Regions from separate parts of the Homo sapiens genome. Here all the other regions are linked to region 5. Evidence: promoter capture Hi-C in 16 types of primary human blood cells and fetal thymus (Javierre and others, 2016). All regions are on one chromosome and are shown on one strand. The core of a region is centred on a gene start or on the middle of the fragment in contact, and the rest is flanking DNA. Distances in the headings are between cores, read along the strand shown. Region 1 holds the start of TMEM209 (transmembrane protein 209). Region 2 holds the start of CPA2 (carboxypeptidase A2). Region 3 holds the start of ZC3HC1 (zinc finger C3HC-type containing 1). Region 4 holds the start of CPA4 (carboxypeptidase A4). Region 5 overlaps LOC105375508 (a long non-coding RNA gene).

Evidence for each region. The method cuts DNA at HindIII sites, captures the fragments that hold promoters and counts their contacts. A CHiCAGO score of 5 or more calls a contact.
Region 1: a contact is called between the fragment with the promoter of TMEM209 here and a fragment that was not itself captured in region 5, in 1 of 17 cell types (M2 macrophages). The highest score is 5.5, in M2 macrophages.
Region 2: the fragment with the promoter of CPA2 here is called in contact with a fragment that was not itself captured in region 5 in 11 of 17 cell types (M2 macrophages, endothelial precursors, M1 macrophages and 8 more); the score reaches 10.6 in M2 macrophages.
Region 3: the fragment with the promoter of ZC3HC1 here is called in contact with a fragment that was not itself captured in region 5 in 6 of 17 cell types (fetal thymus, M2 macrophages, megakaryocytes and 3 more); the score reaches 7.9 in fetal thymus.
Region 4: the fragment with the promoter of CPA4 here is called in contact with a fragment that was not itself captured in region 5 in 8 of 17 cell types (M1 macrophages, M2 macrophages, M0 macrophages and 5 more); the score reaches 8.6 in M1 macrophages.

Annotation. Positions count from the first base shown.
Region 1 is chr7:130,204,050-130,206,749 of GRCh38, forward strand. It overlaps TMEM209 (transmembrane protein 209), which reads right to left and starts at 1,357. Exons shown (of 15, transcript NM_032842.4): 1 at 1,324-1,357; 2 at 1-61. The coding sequence starts at 1,326. It also overlaps a transcript of SSMEM1 not described here. RefSeq lists a silencer at 1-134 and enhancers at 796-1,595, 1,272-1,451, 1,512-1,621. The HindIII fragment of the contact is 16,046 bases long and covers 1-2,700 here.
Region 2 is chr7:130,265,466-130,268,165 of GRCh38, forward strand. CPA2 (carboxypeptidase A2) reads left to right here and starts at 1,398. Exons shown (of 11, transcript NM_001869.3): 1 at 1,398-1,487. The coding sequence starts at 1,417. The HindIII fragment of the contact is 5,023 bases long and covers 106-2,700 here.
Region 3 is chr7:130,050,124-130,052,823 of GRCh38, forward strand. ZC3HC1 (zinc finger C3HC-type containing 1) reads right to left here and starts at 1,251. Exons shown (of 10, transcript NM_016478.5): 1 at 1,098-1,251. The coding sequence starts at 1,243. RefSeq lists enhancers at 585-1,377, 1,005-1,314, 1,375-1,564. The HindIII fragment of the contact is 10,065 bases long and covers 763-2,700 here.
Region 4 is chr7:130,291,711-130,294,410 of GRCh38, forward strand. It overlaps CPA4 (carboxypeptidase A4), which reads left to right and starts at 1,451. Exons shown (of 11, transcript NM_016352.4): 1 at 1,451-1,538. The coding sequence starts at 1,471. RefSeq lists an enhancer at 1,856-1,945. The HindIII fragment of the contact is 9,413 bases long and covers 1-1,961 here.
Region 5 is chr7:130,819,895-130,822,594 of GRCh38, forward strand. All of the region lies in intron 3 of LOC105375508 (a long non-coding RNA gene), which reads left to right. The region is part of intron 2 of LOC105375509 (a long non-coding RNA gene); the gene reads right to left. It also overlaps the pseudogene LOC347674. Among named protein-coding and RNA genes, the nearest start is that of MIR29A, 56 kb to the right of the region's middle. The HindIII fragment of the contact is 2,375 bases long and covers 230-2,604 here.

The DNA of each region.
Region 1 (2,700 bases), core at 107-2,606, 620 kb before region 5:
CTTTTCTCATCTTGATGGTTCTGTCAATAAGGGAAGCACTAGGGTGTGCCTCCCCCTGCATCTATGAAAAAACAAAAAGCACAGGAATTAACCAGAAGAAACTATTGCTCCATTTAAAAACCAAATTTTGCATCCCTTATAAAGGTAACTGAAACCGCATATACCTTCTCTCATCTTTAAAATGTTTTATCAAAACTTCTTCCATTTTAATATCAGTATATGAAAAGGGAACCCAAAATTATATGTAACTTAATTGGCATCACAGTGTAATCAACAGAGAAGTGGCTGGTTATTTATCTATTTATTTGTTTTGAGACGGAGTCTTGCTGTCTCCCAGGCTAGAATGCAGTGGCGCGATCTCGACTCACTGCAACCTCCGCCTCCCGGGTTCAAGCGATTCTCCTGCCTCAGACTCCCGAGTAGCTGGGATTACAGACGCCCGCCACCGCGTCCGACTGATTTTTGTATTTTTAGTAGAGACGGGATTTCAACATTTTGGCCAGGCTGGTCTCGAACTCCTGACCTTGTGATCCACCCGCCTCGGCCTCCCAAAGTGTTGGGATTACAGGCGTGAGCCACCGCGCCCAGCCGTGGCTGGTTATTTAAGAACAATTTAATACTTCCAATACATAAAAATGTCTTATTTTGTAATTTAAGGGTTATGTCTAGAAATACTTTGTATTTTGTCTTTGGGGTATGTTACACGGACTAGGCAAAAGGCTAACTTCAGAAACTCAAAATGTCAAGTTTTGGGAGACTATATTCCATATCTGCTGTAAGTCATAAAGACTGTTGTACATCCTCATGCAGACGCCATTACTATCTCAACAACTCTGCACTTGGACAGCTGTACTCCAGGGCTCTCCCTTTTGTGTGTGGATAAAGGACAAGGATCCAAGTTTTAGAAGGGCACGTACTTATGATGGGGTGGTGAGCGGAGTAAGAGGGAGAGAGGGGAAAACGTGCATTGTTTTGGTCCACATTTGGGATTTATAATTCCTCCTTTCTTCAGCTAGGCTCAACTCTTACAGACCGTGCAAAACTTGTTCCAGCGACAAGCAGTCGTATCCCACAGAGGACAGAGCAATAGCTTTCGCGCCACTCAGCCCCCGCGTCCCAATTTCCCAGTCCAGAGCTTCCCTCCCCGGCTCCTGGGCACGAACTTCAGCAACCCTATTGCTTCTTTCTTCCCTTCCCCTAGAGAGGCGGAACGCCTAGCCACATCCCCCTTGGCTGAACCCAGGACAGATCAGCAGGCGCGGAACTCCCACAACCCGCGTAGATTCCAAGACAGGAAGCACAAACACGACCCCGAAAACGCACCATGTCCTCTGGCCGGAAAACGCAGGCTCGCGCCACTCTCTCTGGGCATGCGCAAAGCCAAGCTCAAGCGGGAGGCCACCGGCAAGCGGCTCTAAAGTTACCGGAAGAACTAGGTAGTCTCTTCTCGCGAGAAAGGGAGGGGTCGCAGGCCCAGGCGCTCGGAGCGTTACCAGGGAAACAGGTCTCGGTTTTGCGGCTCCCACTCAGCTGCGGGAGAAAGCTAAGCAGCAAAATTCAGACCAGGCTCTGAACCCGCAGTAAAAAGTAATAATTGTAACAAGCTGAATTTTGTATCTATTAATATAATTTTAGCTTCCCTAGGGCATTTATGGACTCACATGTGTAAACTGATTAAGTAGGGCGGCTCACCGTAGGATAGAGTGGCGTGATAAAGTGGCCAGACACCATCAGTGACAAAGCATTTCTTTCCCCTGTGTTAAAGTATCTATGTCAAGAGTCCTGACCCCATGTAATTTTTTTTTTGGTAGAGACAGGGTTTCGCCATGTTGGCCAGTCTGGTCTCGATTTCCTAACCTCAAGGGATCCGCCCGCCTCAGCCTCCCAAACGCCTGCTGGCCTCCCACCGCCTTTTGGGATTACAGGCGTGGCCCACCGCGCCCGGCCTAAATTCTTAATCTGTTTAATAGGGTGCAGCAATAACAAGCACACCCAAAATTTGTTTTATTGAAGTTGCTAGTGGTTTTGAGGTTAAAAATAATAACACATTTTCGTATGTATTTTTTGGAAGAGCTGCTCATCCTGAGGAAAAGGTTGAGCTTTGTTTTATTTAGCACAAATACCTACAAGTGTGCCGCTGAGCCAGGCGCACGGATATAGAAAATAAGACCTTCCTGGTTATTACCCAGAGGAGCTCAACCCCAGCGGAGGCCCACAGATGCATTTCGGTGGCAGGTGAGGTGGATGCAGTGCTCCCCAAGGAGGCGCATCCAGCCCAGCCCCAGCTCTCGCGAGCTTCCTGGAGGAGATGACGCGTTAGAGTCCACAGCCAGAAACCCAGGGCCTGGGGACTTGTTCTGAAGTGTGCCTCCTAATAAAAACATTAAGCCATGCCACAGTAAGCTAGTGGATTACATCATGTATGTCCAATGGCCAAAGTTTTTCCTAAAATGATCCTAAGATTAATACCACGTGGTATTGTATATTAATGAAAATCGGCAGGTATGCTGTGCTCTTGAAGAGCTGTTAAGTTTTATCATTTTTAGATTGCTTTAGCAGCAATGTTGTTTTGCTCTAGTTTTAGATTTAGAGATGAACTAACTGGAAAATTGTTCAAAGTGAAAGGGCTCAAGGTGCAATCAAAATTAGAATACCGGCCGGGCGCGGTGGCTCACGCCTGTAATCCCAACACTTTGGGAG
Region 2 (2,700 bases), core at 148-2,647, 550 kb before region 5:
GTCTCGATCTCCTGACCTCGTGATCCACCTGCCTTGGCCTCCCAAAGTGCTGGGATTACAGGCGTGAGCCACTGAGCCCAGCCTGAAACTTGATTTTTTCCAGGAAGCTTTTATTGATTCTCCAAGTACATACTTCCAGTTTATTGAACTACTGTTTATTTGATAGGTGCTGGAGACATGAGGATGAATTATGGCCTCTGCCTTTTGGTTTCTGTCTTCTCTCTGACTCCCAGGAGAATGAAAAACCAAGTTAATCCAGTCATTCTTAAAATCAGAAACACTGTGTATATACCTTTCCCCTTAAAGCAGATATTTGAGAATGCAAACCCAGAGATTTAAAGTGTGTGCTGATAAATTTGACACACAAAGGACAGACGAAAATTTCCTTGCTGCTTGTTGTGGTTGAGGCTTTCTAGGCTTAATATAACGTGTATGAACAACTAAAATTAAATAAACTATGGTTTCTAAAAATAAGCAGTTATATTTTCTTCTTAAGCAATGAAGAACAAAGTCAGATTAATGTAGATCTATGTTTATGAACAAGAAAAGATCACCTTTGTTTAAAGAACAGTATACGTGATATGGTCTAATCTTTGTTTAAGAAAAAAACTCGAAAGCAGAGAAAGAAATTTGGAAAGACATATGCCAAATGGTTTTCTTTGGATGGAAGAATTATTGATGGTTAAAGAAAACACTTTCTTTTAATTCACACTTTTTATAACAAGCAACTTCATTGTTGCTTGTTATAGGAAATGTCATCAGAAAGACATTTTCATTTTGGGAAAAAGCACAGAAAGAGGGATATCAATTTGGTGCAAATGCAGATGGATCACTTTCGAGAAAGTGCAAAATTGAATATTAAAAGGCCTTCTGTTTTGTTTTAATGTAGAGTGAGGATTGGAATGGGCCACATCTACAGGGACACTCAGCAGATGTGGACTGAGTGACTGCAGTGTTTCAAGGTAAACATTATAAAAATAAACAAATGAGCAAACTAATGGAATGTGATAGACAGGATGCCTGAGTAATTACTATAAATGCTCTGGCCTTTTTTTTGTGTGTGTGTCAGAGACCCAGAAAAGACTTTAACCTCTAGGTCTATTAATCTGGCTTCTATCACAGGGTAGCTAGTGGCGTTTTATGGTCTCAATCATAACTATATTGCCCTTGGTATGCTCTAGCAATTTTGTTCTCTTTCCATCAAAGTTTGTTATCTTATCCTAGGAATGGAACATGTACACATTGGTGATATCACACAGGTGGATGTCTACAACCTTGAGAATTTCACATGCAGGTGGGAATTTTCCCATGTGGGAATTCACGTGAGTTCTCAGAAGGCCAGCAGATCACCCTCAGCTGCCATCCCTACAAATAAAGTTCAGGAAGGACTCTGAATTCTGGACTCCAGGAAAACCCATGGCCATGAGGTTGATCCTGTTTTTTGGTGCCCTTTTTGGGCATATCTACTGTCTAGAAACATTTGTGGGGTAAGTTATGCTTTCTGGTGCTTCTTTGAATTTTACTTACCTGATTGATGGAGGCTTTGATTGTTACAGAGTAAATGGGTATAAGTGTTCAGTGTTTTCAGAGAAGTTCTCTTAGATTTGGGGATAAGTCAATAGTGTGAAAAAAAGGAGTGGATGATCAAAAAGGAGGTGAATGACATTTAAAGGAAAAGACAAAAGTGAAAACTGAACACACATAACCCTATTTCTCTCTGTCCTTACTCATTTTTCCCTCCAGTGATCAGACTGTAGGGATGATAGACATCAGGGAAAATACAGCTGTGTGGCCATTTGTTCCAGGCAACTCAGCGGGTGTCAATGCTACTCTCCCACCTCCTCCTGCTCTTCTGGGCTTTACCATCCACGTTAGCCCTTGTGCCCTAACCCCCGATCTTTAGATTCAGCACCTAGGTGGTGGAACCTCATGAAGTAGAAAGGCCAGGGCTATAGATTTCAGCTCAACTCCTCCTCTCCTGGCTTTGGAGGACTCATCTTTGCTCCAAAGTACTTTGCTTCATGATTCTATGAAGGGTTTCAGGCAGCATTTTTTGAAGAGTGGTCCAGGGAGCTAAGAAAGCAATCAAATAAGTTTGGTCCCAAAAAGCCACTGGTCAAATAAATGTGGGAATCAGAGGATTAAACAAACTATAGGATTTCTAGGAGCCTTGGCTAAATCAGTGTGCATTATAAATCTATAAGAGGGGATCTAGGTTGCAGCATGTACTCTTTTTTTTAATCATAAACTACCTACTGCTCCCAGCTTGCCCTTTCTTTCTTTCTCTTTCTCTTTCTTTCTTTCTTTCTCTTTCTTTCTTTCTTTCTTTCTTTCTTTCTTTCTTTCTTTCTTTCTTTCTTTCTTTCTTTCACTGAGTAACTCAAAGAACTACTATTCTTTAGAACACACACCAGGAAATATGACCCTGTTGTATTACTTTTCTCAGTGCCTTCCCATTTTAAAGGAGGACTCCTGGGAGTCCATGCATTAACCGAAAATAATGAGACTTAAATGGAAGAATTTTCAGACCATTTGTGGCAGGTGAGCCTCGAAGAGCTCACATTCCATCACTTCTGTATTCCACTGGAGTTCGTAGGAAATTGCATGGAGCTTGGTTTCAGAAGACCCATATTCTGGTCCCTGTACATGGCTCATTGTATTGATTCCTTCCCCACTGCACAAACAGTTGGGGCAGTGACT
Region 3 (2,700 bases), core at 1-2,500, 770 kb before region 5:
CTGGAGTGCAGTGACGCGATCTCGGCTCACTGCAACCTCCGCCTCCCAGGTTCAACCAATTCTCCTGCCTCAGCCTCCCGAGTAGCTGGGACTACAGGCGCGGGCCACCACGCCCGGCTAATTTTTTGTATTTTTAGTAGAGATGGGGTTTCACCGTGTTAGCCAGGATGGTCTTGATCTCCTGACCTCGTGATCTGCCCGCTTCAGCCTCCTCAAAGTGCTGGGATTATAGGCGTGAGCCACCGCGCCCGGCGACAGGCATTATTTTAATAAAAATAGGATTACATCAACGATTATAGCTCAAAAGAAATAAACTTACTCTAAGACTCTCAGAGATTCATAGAGAGCCTCAAGCGGGTGTGGTTCTAGGCCAAAAAAAATTCACAGCATCCATAAACTTGGATGGGTAAAAATGACATTTATTTCTCTCTAAATGACAAGATTTAGCATTTTCTTCAATTATGAATGAAGGTAAAAACACCATAGTAGTATTAGCAGTACCTGCTAATTTGTCACCAATGGAAATAATGTTCCCACATTATGGTGGTTGCATGTCTTCAAATACCTTTGTGCTCATCACTACTTCAAAATTATGGTTGACAACACATACTACTAGATATTATGGACTCTTTAATAAAAAGCATTGTTACTGCGTAACTTTTTCCTTTTACCATCTTGATAACTACATTCCAATCTAACTGGTTTCCTTTATAATCCTATGTAATTTACTTTAAGCATTTAAAAATATTCTGAGAGTTAATAAGCTTCTCCAGAGAGCCAAAGGGGTCCACGGCACAAAAAAAGGTTAAGAATCCCCAATTAAGAGAAGTCAAGTGAACTCATTCAGTTAACGGTCCTCTTTACTTCCAAAAATAATGTCCGATGACAAAATTTCGGCTGCGGTTGGGAATCTGGTACACCCCGAGGGGAAGATCAAAGCCGATCAAACATAGTAACCAGAGTTTCTTTCAGATTCTAAGAAGCCATCCCCACTGCCCGAGTCGCCGACCGAGGGGAACCTCCCCCAACCCGCCACCCCTTCCCCAAGCCTTCTTCAATCTTCCAACGCCGGACCCAGGGTTAACTCGTGAACTCACGCGTCCACGCCTCCCTCTTCCGGGGCAATCCCCTCATCTATCAGCTGCCGGATTTTCTGGGGGGTCCCTTCTGGGGAGCGAACTACTGCACCCCAATTCTTTTCAACCCCTACGGCAAACGCTTGTCCCTCACAGGGCGCCGCCATCTTGGTCCGCTGCCGAGTTGCTTCCCCGAGAGTTTGAAGGCTCCGGAACTTCCGTCCTGGGAGGTTAATATCCGCCTCTTGAGGCAGCCTGGCTGGGAAAGTCTAACCGCGGGGCCCACGCCTTTTCTCATCATTTTAGAACCTTAGAGCGAGCTTAAGGAGGGCTGTACTGTTTAGGACAATCTTGATTAATCGTTTCCTTTATCAACTAGCATATTTAGGTTGATAAGAGATTTTTAGAACGCTGTCAGTCCAAATTCAGCAGGGATGAGGGGCTCAACTTAATTTTCAAGTAATATTAACTAATACGGCCGGGCGCCGTGGCTCATGCCTGTAATCCCAGCGGTTTGGGAGGCCGAGGTGGGCGGATCGCCTGAGGTCAGGAGTTCGAGACCAGCCTGGCCAACATGGTGAAACCCCATCTCTACCAAAAATACAAAAATTAGCTGGACTTGCTGGCGGGCGCCTGTAATCCCAGCTACTAGGGAGGCTGAGGTAGGAGAATCGCTTGAACCCGGGAGGCGGAGGTTGCAGTGAGCCGAGATTGCGCCACTGCACTCCAGCCTGGGCGACAAGAGCAAAACTCCGACTCAAAAAAAATAAAAATAAAAATAAATTAACTCATACGACCCTCCTAAGTTGCACCTTTCTACAAGCGAGGAAATGGTGACCCTCATTGGAGAGCAAATAATTTAGAATCCTTGTTGGAAACCGTGTTATGGATGGATTTAGAAGTCTGTGGCATTTGACACTATTGATACTCCTTCCTTAGTCCAACAAATATTTATTGAAAACGTCCTATTTATTTTTTTTGAGATGGAGTTTCGCTCTTGTTGCTCAGGCTGCAGTGCAATGGCGCGATCTCGGCTCACTGCAACCTCTGCCTCCCGGGTTCAAGCGATTCTCCTACGTCAGCCTTCCGAGCAGCTGGGATTACAGGCATTCGCCAACACGCCCAGCAATTTTTTTTTTTTTTTTTTGTATTTTTAGTAGGGACGGGATTTCACCATGTTGGTCAGGCTAGCCTTGAACTCCTGACCTCAGGTGATCCGCCCGCCTCGGCCTCCCAAAGTGTTGGGATTACAGGCATGAGCCACCGCGCCCGGCCGAAAGCATCCTATTGATAGTCTCTAGGCACTAGCAATGACAGTCGTGAGCAAAGAAGCTGTAGATCTTGGTGGAGTTAGATGTCAAATTTTCCTATAGTTTTAAAATTATGATTACAAGTGCTCCAAGGATGTACCAAGGTTATAATAGGAGAATCTAATTTAGTTTGCACATTCTCCTGAGAAAAATCAGGTACTGGAGCTGAGACGGATGAGATTGAAGGGAAGAAATCTGTACAGAATCTTCCAACACCCCAGGTTGGAAGACTGATGTGACTAAACAATGGGCAAAGAGGAAAGTGGGATCACCTCCTACCCTTCCAGCACCCTACCTGTGGGCTCCTAACTCTA
Region 4 (2,700 bases), core at 201-2,700, 530 kb before region 5:
CCAGCCTGAGCAAAGATCCTGCGAAGTCATCCCTCCCACCTTGATATCTGATCAAGTTCCTCATCCCCACCTTTGATGGGGACTTTGATGTATAAGTCCTTGGCCTGCTTTTAGCAAGAATCCCCCTACCTTGATGTCTTCTCTTAGTAATCCCACTGATCCTCTCTGTTTTCTTTGCCGTATTCAGTGTTAAGCACAGTAAGTCTTTCCTACTGAAATAGCCATGGTCCTAATCATAATAATCTTGAATTAGGTCTTACATTTTAACACAGGTCAGGATAGTTTTTCTTTAACTCTCTCAACTATGACCCTTGGTTGTGTCCACTCCCTTTGAGTGGGTGTGGAAAGCATGTAGACCGTAGGGAGGGTGGGATGGGAAAGGCTGTGGGAACTGGGGCTCCCAGGACAGACTCAAAGGTCCCAGAGCCCCTGAAGGCGTTATGGAGATATGAGTGTCTTCCATTTATTCAGCTGTGACTTGGCGGAAAGGACACCAGACCCACAGTCTAGGAAGTATAAGAAAATCTTATTATTTATTTATTTATTTATTTGAGATGGAGTCTCACTCTGTCGCCCAGGCTGGAGTGCAGTGGTGCGATCTCGGCTCACTGCAAGCTCCGCCTCCCAGGTTCACGCCATTCTCCTGAGTAGCTGGGACTACAGGCGTCCGCCACCACGCCCGGCTAATTTTTTGTATTTTTAGTAGAGACGAGGTTTCACTGTGATAGCCAGGATGGTCTCAATCTCCTGACCTCGTGATCCGCCCACCTCGGCCTCCCAAAGTGCTAGGATTACAGGCATGAGCCACCTCGCCCGGCTGAAAATCTTATTATTGATAAAACCATTAAGCCTTCCCCATAGATCAGACCCCAAGGAACACTGATAATTTATTCAGACTAAAACATCCTTTCTATATCATTTGCCTGATACATTTCTATTTCCTTAGTGGAGTCAGAAGAATTAGGCTTCAGATACATAAAAGAGGCCCCAAACCTCTTTCCTCATCCTGACCTGCCCTGGTGAAATTCTCTGGCAGGGCTTGTCAAGCATGTGGTCTTGGAGCCAGCTCAGTCTTGCTTTGATAGTCTTAACTTTTTTATTATTATTCTAGAGGTAATTCTATGCCAGGTTTATAATCTGACCTCTCCTATCAGGATAAATTCCATCCAACACTGTGGAATTAGCTTATTCACTGAAAAAACACTATTTAAATGCCAAGTGATGAGCAATATGGTACCCTTGGCACAGACTTTTTCAGCTCCTGGAGCAAGTTCCTGACCTTGTAAATTGAGATGCTCAACCTTTATCACTTGAAAGGAATGGGAGAGGCATTGGTAGGGCCTGCCTGTCACAGTCAGAGTTGCAAGGGTGCTTGGGAATCACATTAGCATTTTTGAGGACTTGAGTCACTCTCAGACTCTTTATAAATACAGCTTGACTCAGCCACTGTATGACTGACTCCCCGGGGACATGAGGTGGATACTGTTCATTGGGGCCCTTATTGGGTCCAGCATCTGTGGCCAAGAAAAATTTTTTGGGTAAGTTCCTTTTGGACTTATTATTTGGTTATTTCAGAAATATGGGAGCCAAATGGAACTGAAAATGAATGGCTGATAATAGCTCACATGGAGGAAGAAGACCTGGGCTCTTGTTCCAGCTTTGCCCCTGTGTCATCCTGGACAAGTCCACTCTCTTCTCTGAGACCCCATTTCATCTGTGAAATCAGGACTAGATGATCATTGCAGTCTCTCCCCAGCTCCCTCATCTCCTGCCAGTTCTTTTTCTGCCTAGTTCTTACTTATAAGGTCAGTTCCAGGCATCTACTTTCTTACTCCTACCTTATTAATTACTAAGAGTTACTGGTTACTAAGAGCTACGTTATTAATTACTAAGAGTTACTGGTTACCAGAAATGGTTTGTTTCCAATTTCCGCCATGCATAAAGGGAAACCCTGGGTCTCAAGCTTGTTGGTTTCACTTCTTTGTTAATGGCGAAGGCTTTGCAGAGCTGGTGCCTTCTCTTGATCTGCAGTTTAATGCTCTACCCCTGAGCTACACCCTCTTCTGAGCTGGTGCTTTCTTACTGGCTTCTGGGACGTGGAGATTTCACAGGTCTTGCCTAGACACAGCTATGAAAATGACATGCAGAGACACATGCCTGAACACCGTGTGTGTGTGCGCGTGTGTGTGTGCACACACACACGTGCTCAACACGCTCCATGCAGAATACTTTGAGGTTTGCAGGGGAGAGGACATTTGGGTGGTAGGAGAGATAAAAGGGATACCATGGTGCCCTGTTAGAAGACTGAATTATAATAACTCATTACTGCATAATACTTTACCATTTGCAAAGAGCTTTCATGTACATTATCTTTTTGATCACACAACAACTTTGCCAGGCAGGGGTGTTATTTTCTTCCACTTAAACATGAAAAAAATCAGCCTTAGAATGTTAAGGAACGCGCTCAAGGCCACTTAGCTGGGAAGCAGGGGAGCTGGAACTCTGAACGTAAAACTCGTACCCTTTTGCTATAACACAAGTTCATCTCCAAATAAAATCCTATATCTCTTGGATCTGTCTCTTAGTTTTCTTTCTATTTTACTATCTGGCTAATGAGACTTTGGGGTTGTTTTTTGAGGTAATTACTTATATGAGATTGACTAAGTTTTATGATGATGACTTCTGTTCACACCTGTGTCT
Region 5 (2,700 bases), core at 167-2,666:
CTCCTGACCTCGTGATCCGCCCACCTCGGCCTCCCAAAGTGCTGGGATTACAGGTGTGAGCTACCGTGCCCGGCCCACTCTAGCTTTTTTATGATTAGTATTTACATATTTTTGCACCTCTTTACTTTCAGTGTATCTATGTCTTTATATTCAAAGTTCATCTTTGTAGGCAGAATATAGTCGAGTCTTATTTTCTATCCAGTCTGACAATCTTCGCTTTTAGTCAGAAAGCTTCTTATTGACATGGTTGAGTTTCAGCCTATCATCTTACTATCTTCTTTCGTCTATCCCAGCTGCTCTTTTTCCCTTTGTTCTTTCTTCCTGCGTTATTTCAGATTAATCAGTTTTTTTTAGCATTCCACTGTATCCCCCTTTCTCATTTTTAGCTATGCCCCTTTTAAGTGGTTACTCTAGGGTTATGGTACAGATATCCAACTCATCATAGTCTCCTGTGAGTTAATATAGTATCTCTTAACCTATAATTTGAGAACATTATAATGTTGTATTTCTTTTTTTCTTTTTTCTTTTTTTTTCTGGAGATGAAGTCTCGCTGTGTCGTCCAGGCTGGAGTGCAGTGGTGTGATCTCGGCTTACTGCAACCTCCGCCTCCCGGGTTCAAGCAATTCCCCCGTCTCAGCCTCCCGAGTAGCTAGGACTACAGGTGCGCATGCCACCATGCCTGGCTAATTTTTGTATTTTTAGTAGAGACGGGGTTTCACCATATTGGTCAGGCTGGTCTTGAACTCCTGACCTCAGGTGATCCACCCACCTCGGCCTCCCAAACTGCTGGGATTACAGGTGTGAGCCACCGCGCCCAGCCATAATGTTATATTTCTTTCTTTCTTTCTTTTTTTTTGAGGCAGAGTCTTGCTCTGTCTCCCAGGCTGGAGTGCAGTGGCCCAATCTTGGCTCACTACAACCTCCGCCTCCTGGGTTCAAGTGATTCTCCTGCCTCAGCCTCCTGAGTAGCTGGGACTACTGGTGTCTACCACCACACCCTGCTAATTTTTGTATTTTTAGTAGAGACAGGGTTTCACCATATTGGCCAGGCTGGTCTGGAACTCCTGACCTTGTGATCTGCCTCGGCCCCACAAAGTGCTGGGATTACAGGTGTGAGCCACTGCGCCCGGCCCATAATGTTATATTTCTAATAACCTCCATCCTGTTTTTATTTTTTTGCTATTGTTAAGTACAACATATCTGTATGTAAACTTTCCATATCTTGTAAACCACACAATGTATTCTTATTTTTATTTTAGTCAGTTTTCCTTTAAAGAAGTTAAGTAAACAAGTAAATTTTAAACAATGTGTTTACTGTTTTTGGTACTCTTAATTTCTTCCTATAGATCTGTTACTAATTGGTATTGCATTTCCTTTATCCTGAAGTACTTCCTTTTACATTTCTTGTAGTGCAGGTCTACTGGCAACAAATTCTATCAGATTTTACTTATTTGTAAATATTTTTATTTTTATTTTCTTCTTGAAGGGATATGTTTTCTAAAATTCTAGTTGACTTTTTTTTTCTTCAGCATTTTAAAGATTTCCCATTGCTTTTTGGCTTCCATTGTTTCTTTCTTTTCTTTTCTTTTTTTTTTTTTTTTGAGACAGAGTCTCGCTCCGTCCCCCGGGCTGGAGTGCAGTGGCACAATCTCAGCTCACTGCAAGCTCTGCCTCCCAGGTTCATGCCATTCTCCTGCCTCAGCCTCCCGAGTAGCTGGGACTATAGGTGCCCGCCACCACGCCTGGCTAATTTTTTGTATTTTGTAGTAGAGACGGGGTTTCACCATGTTAGCCAGGATGGTCGCGATCTCCTGCCCTCGTGATCTGCCCGCCTTGGCCTCCCAAAGTGCTGGGATTACAAGCATGAGCCACCATGCCCAGCTTTCTTGTTTTTTTTTCCAGCTCTGTCACCCAGGCTGGAGAGCAGTGGCACGATCTTGGCTCACTGCAACCTCCACCTCCCAGGTTCAAGCCATTCTCATGCCTCAGCCTCCTGAGTAGCTGGGATTACAGGCACATGCCACCGTGGCCAGCTAATTTTTTTATTTTTAGTAGAGACGGGTTTTTGCCATGTTGGCCAGACTGATCTTGAACTCCTGACCTCAAGTGATTCACCCACCTCAGCCTCCCCAAGTATTGGGATTACAGACATGAGCCACTGTGCCCAGCCTGCTTCCATTGTTTCTAGTAAGATGTCAGCCATAGTTCTTATTGTTGTATGTACTGTGATATATCCCTCTCTGCCTTCCCCCTTCCCCCAGCCGCTTTTGAGATTTTCTCTTTATTTTTGGTTCTCTGCAGTTTGACATTTATGTATGTGCCTCAGCATAGTTTTCTTTTTGTTCATCTTGCTCAGGGTTTCCTTAGCTTAGTGGTGCTTTGGGTTTGTTCACCTTCAAATTGGGAAGATGTTGGTCATTATTTTTTAAAGTATTTTTTCTTCTCCATTCTCTCTCTCCTATTCTTCCGGGACTTGAATTATATATATTAGATCACTTCAAATTGTCCCACAGATCAGTGATTCTTTATACATTTTTATTTCAATCTTTCTCTCTTTTTTTCTTTCAGTTGAAACATACAACTTTTTTGATGATACACAAATGAAGCTTTTGGTGGATAAATTGAAGTCAAAACAAATAACAAAACAGTATGTCATTTATAATAGACAGGTTCACTGTCAATTCAGAGGAACCAGTAAAA